Regions from separate parts of the Homo sapiens genome. Here region 2 is linked to region 1. The links are contacts of gene promoters, found by promoter capture Hi-C in human tissues and cell types (Jung and others, 2019). All regions are on one chromosome and are shown on one strand. The core of a region is centred on a gene start or on the middle of the fragment in contact, and the rest is flanking DNA. Distances in the headings are between cores, read along the strand shown.

The links. The method cuts DNA at HindIII sites, captures the fragments that hold promoters and counts their contacts. A contact is called where the count stands out against the background at its distance.
Region 2: a fragment that was not itself captured here is called in contact with the fragment with the promoter of NDST4 in region 1 in 1 of the 25 tissues and cell types used here (heart left ventricle).

Annotation. Positions count from the first base shown.
Region 1 is chr4:115,110,111-115,116,779 of GRCh38, reverse strand. It overlaps NDST4 (N-deacetylase and N-sulfotransferase 4), which reads left to right and starts at 3,160. Exons shown (of 14, transcript NM_022569.3): 1 at 3,160-3,336. The HindIII fragment of the contact is 5,437 bases long and covers 1-5,271 here.
Region 2 is chr4:115,075,648-115,082,803 of GRCh38, reverse strand. NDST4 (N-deacetylase and N-sulfotransferase 4) reads left to right here. Exons shown (of 14, transcript NM_022569.3): 2 at 5,522-6,745. The coding sequence starts at 5,768. Among named protein-coding and RNA genes, the nearest start is that of NDST4, 34 kb to the left of the region's middle. The HindIII fragment of the contact is 6,354 bases long and covers 489-6,842 here.

The DNA.
Region 1 (6,669 bases), core at 1,911-4,410:
AAGATAAATTCAGTTGAATGAAAAGGTTTTGTAGTGGGCAAATACTACTTTAACTTTTGCTGAGTCAAGAGAGCAACTGAATAAAAATATGTGGAGCTCTAAAAGTTTATTAGTTCAACAAGTTCAATTCAATTTTTTAAAAATCCATTGAGGTCTTAATATAAGTCTGGACCTACATCTTAATAGATAAAAGAACAATTATATTATACTTTATAGAGTGCTTAAAGAAACTTAAAAGCATCCACTTTCTTCTTAAAAGTCAACTATAAGCAATTGGGTGAATGCTTTGCATTGCGTGTATTGTTGAAAATGAGCTGACTTGATGCTACATTTTGATATTTAAGTGCAAGCCCTGTAAATTGTGGAACACAAGTTAAATGATTTAAAAAATTAAAACACTTTGAGCAAGTAATTATTTCCTCTTTTCTCTCTTGTGTATTACATTTCTTCCCAGAAATGTCCAAGGTCATTTATTTCATTTTCCCAACATGACAGATGAGAAAATGATAAAAGATTACAAATTCACAAATATGTTTGTTTTAGTCATTTGCGAATACAATATACAAAGAAAAGTATAAGAAAAATATTCAAAATACTTTGAGGATTATTTTGTTTTGTTTTAGTGTGAGTGTTGTGAATTTCTCTGGTTTTCCCCAGGAATAGAAAAGAAAGCACTTTTTGGTGGGTTTCCATTCATTTATACATATGTATATGGTGGGACCCTCTGCCTTCAGTACTTAGTGTATTTCTGAATGAAAAATGAGGCAGGGAGAGTAAAGTTGGGTATTTTTTCCCTAAATTGAATTTTAATTACTCATCTCTGGATTTTTTGAATTTCAAAGTTCATGTTTCACAAATATTTAAAAGAATTTTACCTTTAATAAGAATATCTTCTATTAATATTTTATATAGCATTTTTACACTGTGAAAGTAGTTACCTCTTCAGCTTAAAACATTGTTTATAGTTTAATGCTAGAGAAGAAGTTGATCAACATTTTTCACTTGTAATCATCAATGGATATCAGCTCTAGTTTATCACTAGAGCCGAGGATATAAACCCTGCTCCATGTTTTAATGTGATGGGTTTTATCTTCAGATCACTGTGTTGCCATTTAGTTCCAATAAATGAAAATACTCTGATAAAGTGGCATTCTTGAGTTGTGAAATAGAACTATGTCAATAATATAAAGATGTTGAGCATTTATAATAGTTTTTCATTTAAATTATTTTTCTAAAGTTAAGACTTAAAAATAATTACCCAACTTGAATAAAGAAGAAGGCATTATTAGTAAGCCAAACTACATACAACAGAAAAATCTTCAATTGGCTTTTACAATTTATGCTATTTTATGTTATTTATCAACTGTTAGTGTTTCCCATGATGCTACTCTAGTAATAATTATTTTATTATGACATCTTTGAAATATTTAACTGCAGTTTATTTATCCATTTTGAATTTTGATGTGTATCACTCTGAAAATTCTGACTTGACTTCAATGCATCTTTGCATTCCAAATGTTTTAAAAGGTAGTAAGAAGTACCTGAACGCTTTAATTATTTTTAAAATATAAATTTTTTCTTTAATATATTTTAGCCTGTGCACCTGAAAAACTAACTGATACATGACCTATGAGTTACTAGGTTTTATTTATTGCTTATGAATAACTGGTAAATATTTTTTCTAACTTGCTAGATTTTTTTTCCCTATTCTCTGTATGGCATATGTCTATGGCTTGCTAACCCTCAAAACCTTGTGCAGTATAATAATACTAGTAATCCTGGATGCATTAAAATTATTCTTCTGAAAGACCACATCATCAATAAATGCTGAGTTTTGAAGGACTCCCTCCTACCCCTACCTTCCAGTCTTATAGAGGATTTCATTGAAACCACACCAGTATTTCAAGTGGAACTACTACGTACAACCAAAGACACCCATATACCTGAGGAGGACTTGGAGTTGAGAAAAGCTTGTAGTTCTGTTCTGCAACCTATTAGGGGTGTTGAACCAAATTCTCATTAGCCTATCTTATTCCACTAAATTAAATGGTAGAAACTAAGGGATGTACTAAAGCAAGAAAAGCCCAGGGAATCATGTAGTCTGGAATGAGGAGAAGTACCTGAAAGCACTTTACTTTTACTTTTACATATATCCTAATGAATAAGTTTAAAGAACTTTACATAATGTATATAAAAGTACTTGATAATATCTTTATGTGTTTACACGAATTAATAGAAAACAAAGAGCAGGTAATTTTCAACTTATATTGCCACGTTAAAAAGAAGAAAAGAGACATAGAAAAGAACTTTTCCATAATAATCCAGTAGTTTACCTTAATTACTAAAACAATGCACACAATAAATTCACACGCACATACTCTTTCTTTTCTTCTAACATTTATCATGGTCTAAAATGCTGTTATTAACTTCAGGACTATGTAGCTTACTAATACTTGTCCGAGTTTCCTATTGCTCATTGTTGGCTTTTGTTGAGTTTGTAATTTTTGTGTTTAACTGGCACACATTTACAGCAGAAAATCCTGCTTTGAACTTTTCTTATTTTGTCCAATAGAATCTCGTGGAACAGTGTCATAGCTGCAAAGTGGAATTCTATCCTCAAATTTCATAGGAAATAGTCGAACTGTACAATGAAAGATTATGCAAATCTTCAAGGAGCATCTAATCAATCACCGCGGTGTGAGCGGAATGCAGCCCATCGCTGAATTAGCTTCTGTTGGAATGTATTCATGTGTAACATCCCACTGACTGGATGACATCACAACAGCTCCAGGTCCTTGAAAGTCTTGAGGATGATTAGCTGAAGGAATTGGCTGTTTCTGCCAATCATAATCCGGCAAAGCTGCCTTTATAGTTCTGGAGATGTGAGAGAGAGGGAGGGAGGGAAAGACCGACTACAGCTAAACAAGAGGCACAGCAGCACTAGCAACAGCAGAGCAGGAGCAGCTGGTATTCCGGTGATTAAATAGTTCTCATAGCCTTTTTGCTGTACTCGGTCTGCTCCCTGGTGTAATTCTCGTGTCCAAGAAGGAAGCTGCATTTTAACGGTGTGCTGAACAGAGGTTTGAATCATTCCAGCTGGCTGCTTGTTTTGAAAAGGACAATGTGTGTATAAATAAAAGGACTCTGCTGGAAGAGTTCAGACACTAAGACTGGAGCTAGAGAGTGCTCTTGGAATATTGTTGAGGCAGATTGCATGAACTGAAAGCTCCTTCTAATTAACCTGGAGCCAAGTGAACCTGAATACTGGATATCTCATGTTCTAACACGGGATAAATTCAAGTTAGAAAAAGACAAAATATTGAAATGCTTCTCTAGGTAAGTTACTGCTTAATTTGCTGAAATCGAGGTGTGTATCATAAATGAATATGCGTTGCTTAGCTATGTAAACAAGTCGGACACAATAAAGTTTTATTTGTGAAAGATTTATGTAGAAGCAGATAATATCTTAAAACCAAATTCAATCTCCCTTTTCCGCATGTGTGTGCTTACCTGTCATCATGCTTTATAGAAGTTATATTTGCACGTAAGTAGAAAATACAGTCGTACATAAAAAAAAAGAGATACAACTTGATAAAATTTAAACAGTTGCCGGAACATTTGCATAGGAAATATCTTATTTGATAACAACTTTAGCCTTTTCATATTAAAAGCACCAATTTTACAAACTCAACATCCAAAGTTAACTGTAGGGTTATAAATGTTTCCCTAATAAGTGTTACTGAAAACATGGCATTCAAATTACCGAAGATGGGAACTCCTGTTTTTTGGACCTGAGATTTATAGGCATGCTCTGTACTAATGGTCTGCTTTAGAGAAACAGCTGTCACAGACATGTGAAATTGTATGTTACAGTCATAAATTGCTTATAAAGAAATAGGTGCTTTCCTCCTACCTCCTATTAGAAAAGAAAAATAAATTCTTAGAACAATATATGTCATATGCCCTAAGCATAGTTTCCTAGGAGGACAGAAAGCTTTATGGTATACCTCCAATTTCCTCAAGCACAGAATAAGTTGGAAAACAAGAAATGTTATTGGAATATGGTTTTACTCATTCTTTTCAATATTCTTTTTGAGAAAGCTAAATAAGGAAAATTAAACCTTATTTTTCTTAGAATTTGTCCTGATTAATAAAATACTATATTCTACAGAATTCCTGTCATAGTTTTTTTAAGTGATTATATGTTTTGTTTATTATGATAAGTTATACTGTGAGTTCTCATACAGCTTTAGAAAGTTTTAAGTTTATGTTTTATCATGTCTCTTTCAAACTCACCTTTGCTTGTTTTCGTGGTGCCTTTTATCAGAATATTTTTCATTTGCACAGTTTCATAAATGCTTTAACATAAATTGCATACCAAGATACTGATGTGTTTCTGTAACTCTCAGAATGATTTTAGTTTTCCACTTTCTCACCAACAACATGGTTAAAATCCTGTGAGGTTTCTGCCCCAAGAGGAAATTGATAAAGATGAAAGTTATTGTAATTGGTTGAATTTCCCCAAAACTAGGAAGCAATGAATTTTCCCACAACGATGTAAAGGTTTTTTTTTTTTTTTCATATCAAAAGAGTAATTTATTCTACTCTATTAAAAGTATGCCAGTTAGCTATATCCCAGTGTCACATAGGTTCTGTGCTGGTCATTTGTGTGCATGAGTGTGTGCGTGTGTGTGTGTGTGTGAGTAGCAAGTTTATGTAAAGAATATAAAGTCCACTGACTACAACAGTCTAAGTTTTCAACTGGAATTCATAAAAAACTAATTAATAAGCAAAATATAATTGCCATTTACATTTATCTCAATATATAAATGGGAAGTTAAGCCTACTATTGTTGACATTTTTAAAAATAAGAAATCGTATGACAATACATTATGATGATCAATATTAAACAATGTTTACATTGATAGACATCTCATAATAAGCTAATTGGGAAGATTTTTAGAAATTGAATACTAAGCAGAATGGGCCTTTTAACTCTATCTGAATGGCACCTGGTCACCACTAAGACTGATACATAAAAACCCTTTGAAAAAGTTATAATATATATGAGTTACTAATATAACTTGAAAATCACCCTTAGATCCAATTTAGAAACTCAGGCATTATTTTTAAATAAAAGGAAGGTAAAACCTCCTGAAAATTTGAATTTTTTAAATTGATTAATGCAAATATATAAATAATAAATAAAAATGCAAATATATGTAAATTACATTTTGTTTTCTCCAAGATAGGCTTATTATTTAAGAAATGTGTAATTTTAAATATATTATCCTAAACATCAAAAGGAAGTATATGGGGACTATTTTTATATATAAATATATTAAGTCATAATTTGGAATTTCTATAATTGATAATCAAAATAGAAACATATGCTCATGCTTATGTTCACCTCAGGAAAATAAGGATCTTTCATTTTTTATTTGAGATTAAAAACTGTTATACCTATTCTTTCTTCTCCCAAAGAAAAGCATTCTATACTTGGATTTAAAATAAACATAATTCAATCTCAATACTAACATTAGTTCTTAAACGTACTAAATAAATGTTTCCAACCCAGTAGAACAGTTGTCCCCAGTAGGTTAAATGTTCATATGATCCCCTTGTACTTTCTGTTTGAGTTGAAAGGGGGCCTTTGGAAATAAAATCCAAAGATCAAACTTTGTGTGCATCATTTACAAGCAATTACTAAGGGAGAAGAGAGAAGCATTTAGCATACTGTGTTCAAACTAGAAGATTCTGGCTGGTGCTGCCTTCCCAGATTTAGAAAGCAGCTGGGGAAACATAAAATAAAGCTAGAATATCAGCCCTGGCTGGAAGCCAAGACAGAGAAGCTGTGCACCCAGAAGGCTAATTCTTTCTGGGCTAAAATTCATTGATAATGCATTATGTTTAGAGTCTAACCTGAAGTGTTATTTTTTTTCTCCAGTACAAACTGTGGGATATTTAAAGAACAAATATATTTTCTAAGTAGAATTAAATTTTAAACTAACAAAGGTTTCTTCTTTATTAAAAGTTGCTCTGTTGAAAAAATGCAAATAAGCCTACCAGAAACTCCTATAAAATACAGTTTATTCTCAGGAAAAGAAAAAGAAATAACGATGAGATGCATCATCTAACCATGATCTTGGAGAGGCAGAGAGATCAGAAATGACACATATGGATACATGCCAAAACAAAGAAATGTGAAAGTTTTATTAAAATACCTGGCCTAGTAAAATTTACAGTAAAGATACACACACTAAATACTGTTGTAGCATATATCTTCTGAAGGTAGGCAGCAAACATAAGGTAAACTCTCATTACGTACCCCCAGATAACTAGGAAAAAGAGAAACCATGTTGTCTGTTGATTTATTTGAAGTTTACGAAGTGAGATAAATGGGTCAGGTGTCAGACACAATGCTACCGCCTTCAGCCATCATGATAAAACATCTAGCCAGCCTTTTCTTTAACACTTCAGGAAACTTTCAGCTATGCTGTTATGCAGGGTGTTAAATGCCCTATTTTTAAAAGTTATTTTCAGCAAGCTTAAGAAGTTAGAGGTGTTATTTGCAATGCAGAATGTGTACACATATATACAGGCATTTCTAATAGATATAGTTCTATTTCCAAGCTTTCTTTATCTCAGTTTTCTAAGGAAAACTATCAC
Region 2 (7,156 bases), core at 2,416-4,915, 34 kb after region 1:
AATCTTTGTTTCTTCTCTACAGTGCAACTGTAGAATCCTAGTATCATAAATCATTAGTAGTTTAATCTTAGTTCCGTTCTTAAACCTTCTAAATTTTAATTTTGTCATTTTAAAAATAGATCCATAAAGAGTAAACAGGATGATGAATACAAAGAATATAGCATAGTTACTAGCAAGCAGTAGCCATTTATTAAATGCTGGTAAACGTCGTTGCTCTTGTTCTCAATTTCAGCTGAATTTTCAGGAGCCTCTTTAGTGATCTGTACAGCTCATCAGATCACCTTCAACAAAGAAACAACCACACGTATATGCAATGTGATTTAGTATCTAGCTTTCTTCTGTATTTCAGCCTTTCCAAAAGTAGCAATAACTACAGTAGTACCTGTAATTGCTTTGTTTACTAACTCACTTCTCTGCTGCTACCAGAGATTACTAGAAATTTACCATGATTATGTGGCAAATGAACTTTGCAAACTGTATTTTAGAGAATCTCTAAACACATTTTGAAAATGTCAAAAGGCAATCTTATAACAGATATATAAAACAATAGTGTTAATATCATCATATAATATTTTCTAATCTTGAAAGAGAGTCAAAGATTCTAGGAGATATTTATTCCACTACCTAGGTGATAAGCCACATTTGGAAGGATAGAAGGTAAAAATAAGAAAACAAAAATGAGAACAGGAAAATCAACACCTACAAAAGCCTCCCTTTTTTTCTTATCAAAGCCTGTGCAGGGGTCATGAAGCCCACATTTTGTGACAGGTTGTCATGAAAATAATGAGTAGATCTCTCCTTCCAAATTTTTAACGAAAGATTTATTAGAACATGGAAAGTCAGATTAAGAAGAATTGGGACCAAAGCCTGTTTAACTTACTTGGTTTGATGGTTAATAAAATAGTTTTTCCACAGATGGAATTTACTCAGTAATCCACATATTTGTCTGTTATTTCTATAATGAAAGGTCAACATCACCATATAAGGGGAAAGTGGGGAAAGGAAAGCTCTCAAATGTTTCTGTTTCTTGCTGACTTGTCCCAGGGTCTTCCTGAAGAAGAAACTAATTAAGGTAAAATAAAAATTTTGGTGTATCACCTTAGACTACTTAAAAATAAATGCCACATATTTTATACCATTATAGCAGCATTTTAATGTCTTCGTTATTATCCTGAAGTAATTTTTTTAATTTTATGTGACTCATTTAACACGTGCCTTTTGAAAATTAATCTCAATTGTCTTATTCGACTTATGGTAACGACTTAAGATTCTTATGTTGGTTGCTCTCCCTATCCATACTCCTGCATGCCTTTTCCCCCACCTTTTCAAGGGTCACACAGTAGGTAAGAGATTCAAACTAATCACAGACTACACCTTTTTGGCATCCTAAACAATGTCATAATACCATTTCTTACTTCAGGTGTGAGACATAGGTAAACACTTATGGTATATCAAGTTGTATGGTCCAGGCTTCCTCATCTCCACCGGCCAGTTTTGCTAGGGAAGGAGAACTGGGAGAATTGAATGGGAAGGATAACTCCTTTAGTTAAAACACCTACATTGAAAACACATATGTCTTCCATGGTGGTAATATGTATCTATCATTCTTCTAACTCTGAACATATTACTGTTAAATAAATTTCACATTTAAATTTTATTTATTCTTTGGGTTGGCAGATTCTTGCCCCATATGGTTTTTTTTTTAATTTATTTTTCACTATTGCATTAGGAGGAGATAGTCTAAATATGCAAAACTGACATATTCTCCTTTGTGTATTCAAAAATAAAAATCACATTTTTAATGTGAGAAGAAGTAAAGATTAAACCAAGTATTAACTTGTCCTACATTTAATTTCTCTCCGAATCTCCTGGTTAAATTTATTCCTAAAATACTAAGCAATCCTCCAAAGCATGTAAGTAGGTATCTGCTCTTATTGGGTTATTTGGGGGAGTTGTGTGGATGGGGTGGGTCTGATTTTACATTTGTTTAAATAGATTTTTAAATTAAATATGTGAGCTTGGATAAATCTAAGAATTGATATAAGATTAATAATCTCCTTCGACAAGTTCCAAATATCTTTCACTTTCATTATTACACACACACACACACACTACACACTATATATATGTATATATGTATCTTTTAATGAGTTTTTATTTAAAAAATTTACATATGAAAATTTTCAAGCATACATAAAAGTAGAGGATATAATATAATTGCTTTATATATTTCAGACCAAACCAAAGCCTTTTTATTGCTGTATTCCATTTCTTTTTAGTAAAATGCAATCCAATTTGGTTAAAGGGAGCTGAGTTTTGAAACAAAGACTTTTGCAAAGCAGACAATTACATTAAAGAATTTCATTTGGCTGGGCGTAGTCACTCATGCCTGCAATCCCAGCATTTTGGGAGGCCGAGGTGGGTGGATCACCTGAGGTCAGGAGTTTGAGACCAGCCTGGCCAACATGGTGAAACCCAGTCTCTACTAAAAATACAAAAATTAGCTGGACTTGAAGGTGTGTGCCTGTAATCCCAGCTACTAGGGAGGCTGAGGCAGGAGAATCACTTGACCTTGGGAGGTGGAGGCTGCAGTGAGCCCAGATCAGGCCACTGCACTACAGCCTGGGTGACAGAGCAAGACTCCATCTCAAAATAAATAAATAAATGAAACAAATAAAATTTGTAAATAGAGTATTAGTAATTCCCCAACATGTGGGATTCATTTGTTTTTAAAGTCCATGTGAAGTCACTGGGGAGACTGCAAACTGGTACAATATGTTTCACAGTGAAAAGCTAAGGTCCACTTATATATTTGGAATCTGAAGTGTTAAAATATTTAAAATATTTGATGAAAATTTTTAATTTTTTGAAAAAGTTTAAAAGTTATTTTCTGACAAAAACAACCATTTCAACATCATGCAGATTTTTAAAACTTAAATTACTAATGAGGTTAAGTATTGTAGAACATAGAAATATAAAATGAAAAGTAGCGACATAATTTTGCAATGTTTAACTATGTAATCTAAAAAGTTTTCAGTCATCATTAATAAGCATTCATCACTCAGATCCCCCAATTAAAAAATAAAGAAATCCATAAAATATCCACAGTGTGATAGAACATACCACTCATTAAAAAGCATGCTAGTTTAATTCTCTCTGATGTAATATGTCTGATGTAATGCATATCTTAAATATATATATCACACATTGATAACATGAACTATTTTCACCCAAAATAGTTATCCTAGGGAAAGTTTGGCAAACTGGGAAATCGAAAATTATTTAAGTACTCTAACAGTGTAGAGACAGATGAAGTAAGCTTGTATAGAAAGTAATTCATTGAAGTCAGAATCATCTATACAAAGAAAAACATCTAATAATAATGGAAAATTATGTCCATTCGTGATGAAGCAGTTTGGGATTTTTTTTTTTTTTTTTTTCTGAGACAGAGTTTTGCTCTTGTTGCCCAGACTGGCCAGGCTGGCATGCAGTTGTGTGATCTCAGCTCACTGCAACCTCTGCCTCCCAGGTTCAAGCATTTATCCTGCCTCAGCCTCTTGAGTAGCTGGGACTACAGGCATGCACCACCACACCCAGCTAATTTTTGTACTTTTTTAGTAGAGACGGGGTTTCACCATGTTGGCCAGGATGGTATCGATCTCATGACCTTGTGATCTGCCCACCTTGTCCTCCCAAAGTGCTGGGATTACAGGCCTGAGCCACCGTGCCTGTAGTAATGTAGTGTATAATGGGAAATTTTTTTTTTAATGCTGTGTTAGTTCATTCTCAAATGACTATATAGCTGCAACTGGGTAATTTATGAAGAAGAGCTTTAATTGCCTCACAGTTCTGCTTCTCCTTTAAATATCAGTTCTGACTTTAGGTCATTTCTTTGCTTATGTATCCCAGTATAGGTTGTTAGAAGCATCCAGGTCACTTTTTTTGGGCGGGGGTTGGTGGGGGCGGAAGAGAGTTTTGCTCTATTGCCCAGGCTGGAGTGCAGTGGCACAATCTCAGCTCACTGCATCTTCCGCCTCCCGGGTTCAAGCAATTCTCTGTCTCAGCCTCCTGAGTAGTTGGGATTACAGGCACCCACCACCATGCCTGCTAATTTTTTTTGTATTTTTAGTAGAGACAGGGTTTCACTATCCCTACCAGGCTGATCTTGAACTCCTGACCTCGTGATCCACCCACCACTTCTTGAATGCTTTGCTGCTTAGAAATTTCTTCCACCAGATACCCTAAATCATCACATTTAAGTTCAAGTTCCACAGATCCACAGGGCAGGGGCACAATGTAGCATAGTTGTTCGCTAAGGCATAACAAAAAATGACCTTTTCTCCAGTCCCCAATAAGTTCCTCATTTCCATCTGAGACCTCCTTAGCTTGTATTTCACTGTCCATATCACTATCAGCATTTTGGTCACTACCATTTAAAACCAGTCTCTAGGAAGTTCCAAACATATCCTCATCTTCCTGTCTTCTAAACACACACTCTCTCTTTTGCTCCTGCTTCCACCATGTGAGATACCTGGCACCCCCTTGCCTTCTACCATGATTGGAAGCTTCCTTATATCTCCCCAGAAGCAGAAGCTGCTATGCTTCCTGTACAGCCTGCAGAACCGTGAGCCAATTAATCCTTTTTTTCTTTATAAATTTTCCAGTCTCAGGTGTTTTTTTAGAGCAATACAAGAACAAAATAATACAAATGCATTCTACATTCATTTTTTTTGAACTAAAGGAAGTGATAGAGAAATAGAACATCTGATTCTTGGATAAAAATTGACAATGAGTAAGAGTTTTAATTCTTATTACAAGAGTAGGCAAAATTAGGAAATATGCTTTGAGACTAACATGTCATTGTTCTTTTCACCTAAGCGTTCTGTCCTCTGTTTCATTAGCGAGATCTGAGAATGCCTGTTCCTGCAAGAAGAAGGAGCAGTCCTATGTATCTGGGCTGTAATGCTGAAGAGGGCCAAGTGGCTCCCTGTGAGTCCAGATAAAGGATATATTATTCAAGAGAAAAACTTGTAACTACTCTAAACTTAAGACAGATTTATTTAGTCAGCTGGGAATTCCAGAGACTCAGGCAGATACCTAAGAGCATGTTTAATTGCTCTAAGCCCCTGATTCCTGATTTCCTAATTTTATATGTATATAATGGTTATCAGTTCTGTAGAATAGTTTTATGGTAACTGACATACTTTGTTAAAGCTTACTTTCTTACTTCTTTTCTTTTTTGGTGGGATTAGTTAGAAAATGATCTCAATACATGTTTCTATATACATATGGATGTTTAGGCCAAAATAAAATTGGGTTCTGTGTTCTGGAGGTTATCAAAAAATCTACTATACTCTAGGTAGTTAAGTCTAGACTGTAAACATCAGGTTGTTAATATTTTAGCATATTAACACTAAAATTATCATTGCTATATATGTTTCTTGAGCATCAGCATTTATATAGAAATAAATATTTATATTTCTATTTTTATCTTAGTTATTACATCTCTCCTCTCTTTCAGATTATGCTTAGAGGATTCTGCAGCAATTCTCAGTATTGGACATATTCAAAATCTCCTCAACGTATATCCTTCCCATCTATTGCCTTCCAGCTTTAACTCAGTTGTGCTCCCTTCAAACATTTTACATGATTTGCGATGGTTACATGAACTCTGGGGAAGTGATATTTGCAACATCTCATACTTTATTCACTATGGCACTTTAGGAAACGAAATTGGGAAAAAGCTTCCAAAACATTATTCTAAAAAATGAATCTTATTGTGAAACTTCGGAGAAGTTTTCGAACATTGATTGTTCTCTTAGCTACCTTTTGCTTGGTGAGCATTGTCATTTCTGCCTATTTTCTCTACTCTGGCTACAAACAGGAAATGACACTTATTGAAACCACTGCAGAAGCAGAATGCACTGACATCAAAATTCTACCATATAGGTCAATGGAGCTGAAAACAGTTAAACCTATTGACACATCCAAAACGGACCCTACTGTCCTTCTCTTCGTGGAGAGCCAATACTCTCAACTCGGTCAAGATATCATAGCTATTTTGGAGTCCAGCCGATTTCAGTACCACATGGTTATTGCCCCTGGAAAGGGAGATATACCTCCTCTTACAGATAATGGCAAAGGGAAATATACTTTAGTTATTTATGAAAATATTCTGAAGTATGTCAGCATGGACTCATGGAATCGAGAGCTTTTAGAAAAATACTGTGTGGAATACAGTGTTAGTATAATCGGTTTTCATAAAGCCAATGAGAACAGCTTACCAAGTACACAATTAAAAGGCTTTCCGTTAAACCTTTTCAATAATCTAGCTCTAAAGGACTGTTTTGTTAACCCTCAATCTCCTTTGCTGCATATTACCAAAGCCCCCAAGGTTGAGAAAGGCCCTCTTCCTGGGGAAGACTGGACTATTTTCCAATATAATCATTCAACCTACCAGCCTGTACTTTTAACTGAGTTACAGACAGAAAAATCCCTGTCATCCTTGTCTAGCAAAACACTCTTTGCAACGGTGATTCAGGATCTGGGGCTTCATGATGGAATTCAGAGAGTACTTTTTGGCAACAACTTGAACTTTTGGCTGCACAAGCTCATCTTCATAGATGCCATCTCCTTCTTGTCAGGGAAGAGGCTGACATTGTCCTTGGACAGGTACATCCTTGTGGACATTGATGATATATTTGTTGGGAAAGAGGGAACAAGGATGAATGTCAAAGATGTGAAGGTAAGCTTATTTATAGACAACATCGAAATTTGTATTTCACAATATGGTACCGATAAAATATTACTAATATGATAGATTATTAATCCCTAAAGTTTTAAGGTGCAGTAGAGTTGAAATAAGATAGCCATTTAGAAAAATATTGAACCAAGACTTAACCATTCTTTACACACACATACACACACCAGAAGCTTCAGAATGGGACAGAGCTAAAATATTAAAATATCCCAAAGAGTTAGTGAACTTAATCTCTTTGCCTTTTTTTTTTTTTTTTTTTCTGAACAGACTCTTGCTCTGTCGCCCAGGCTGGAGTGCAGTGGCATGATCTTGGCTCACTGAAACCTCTACCTCCTGGGTTTAAGCAATTCTCTGCCTCAGCCTCCCGAGTAGCTGGGATTACAGGTGCCTGCCACC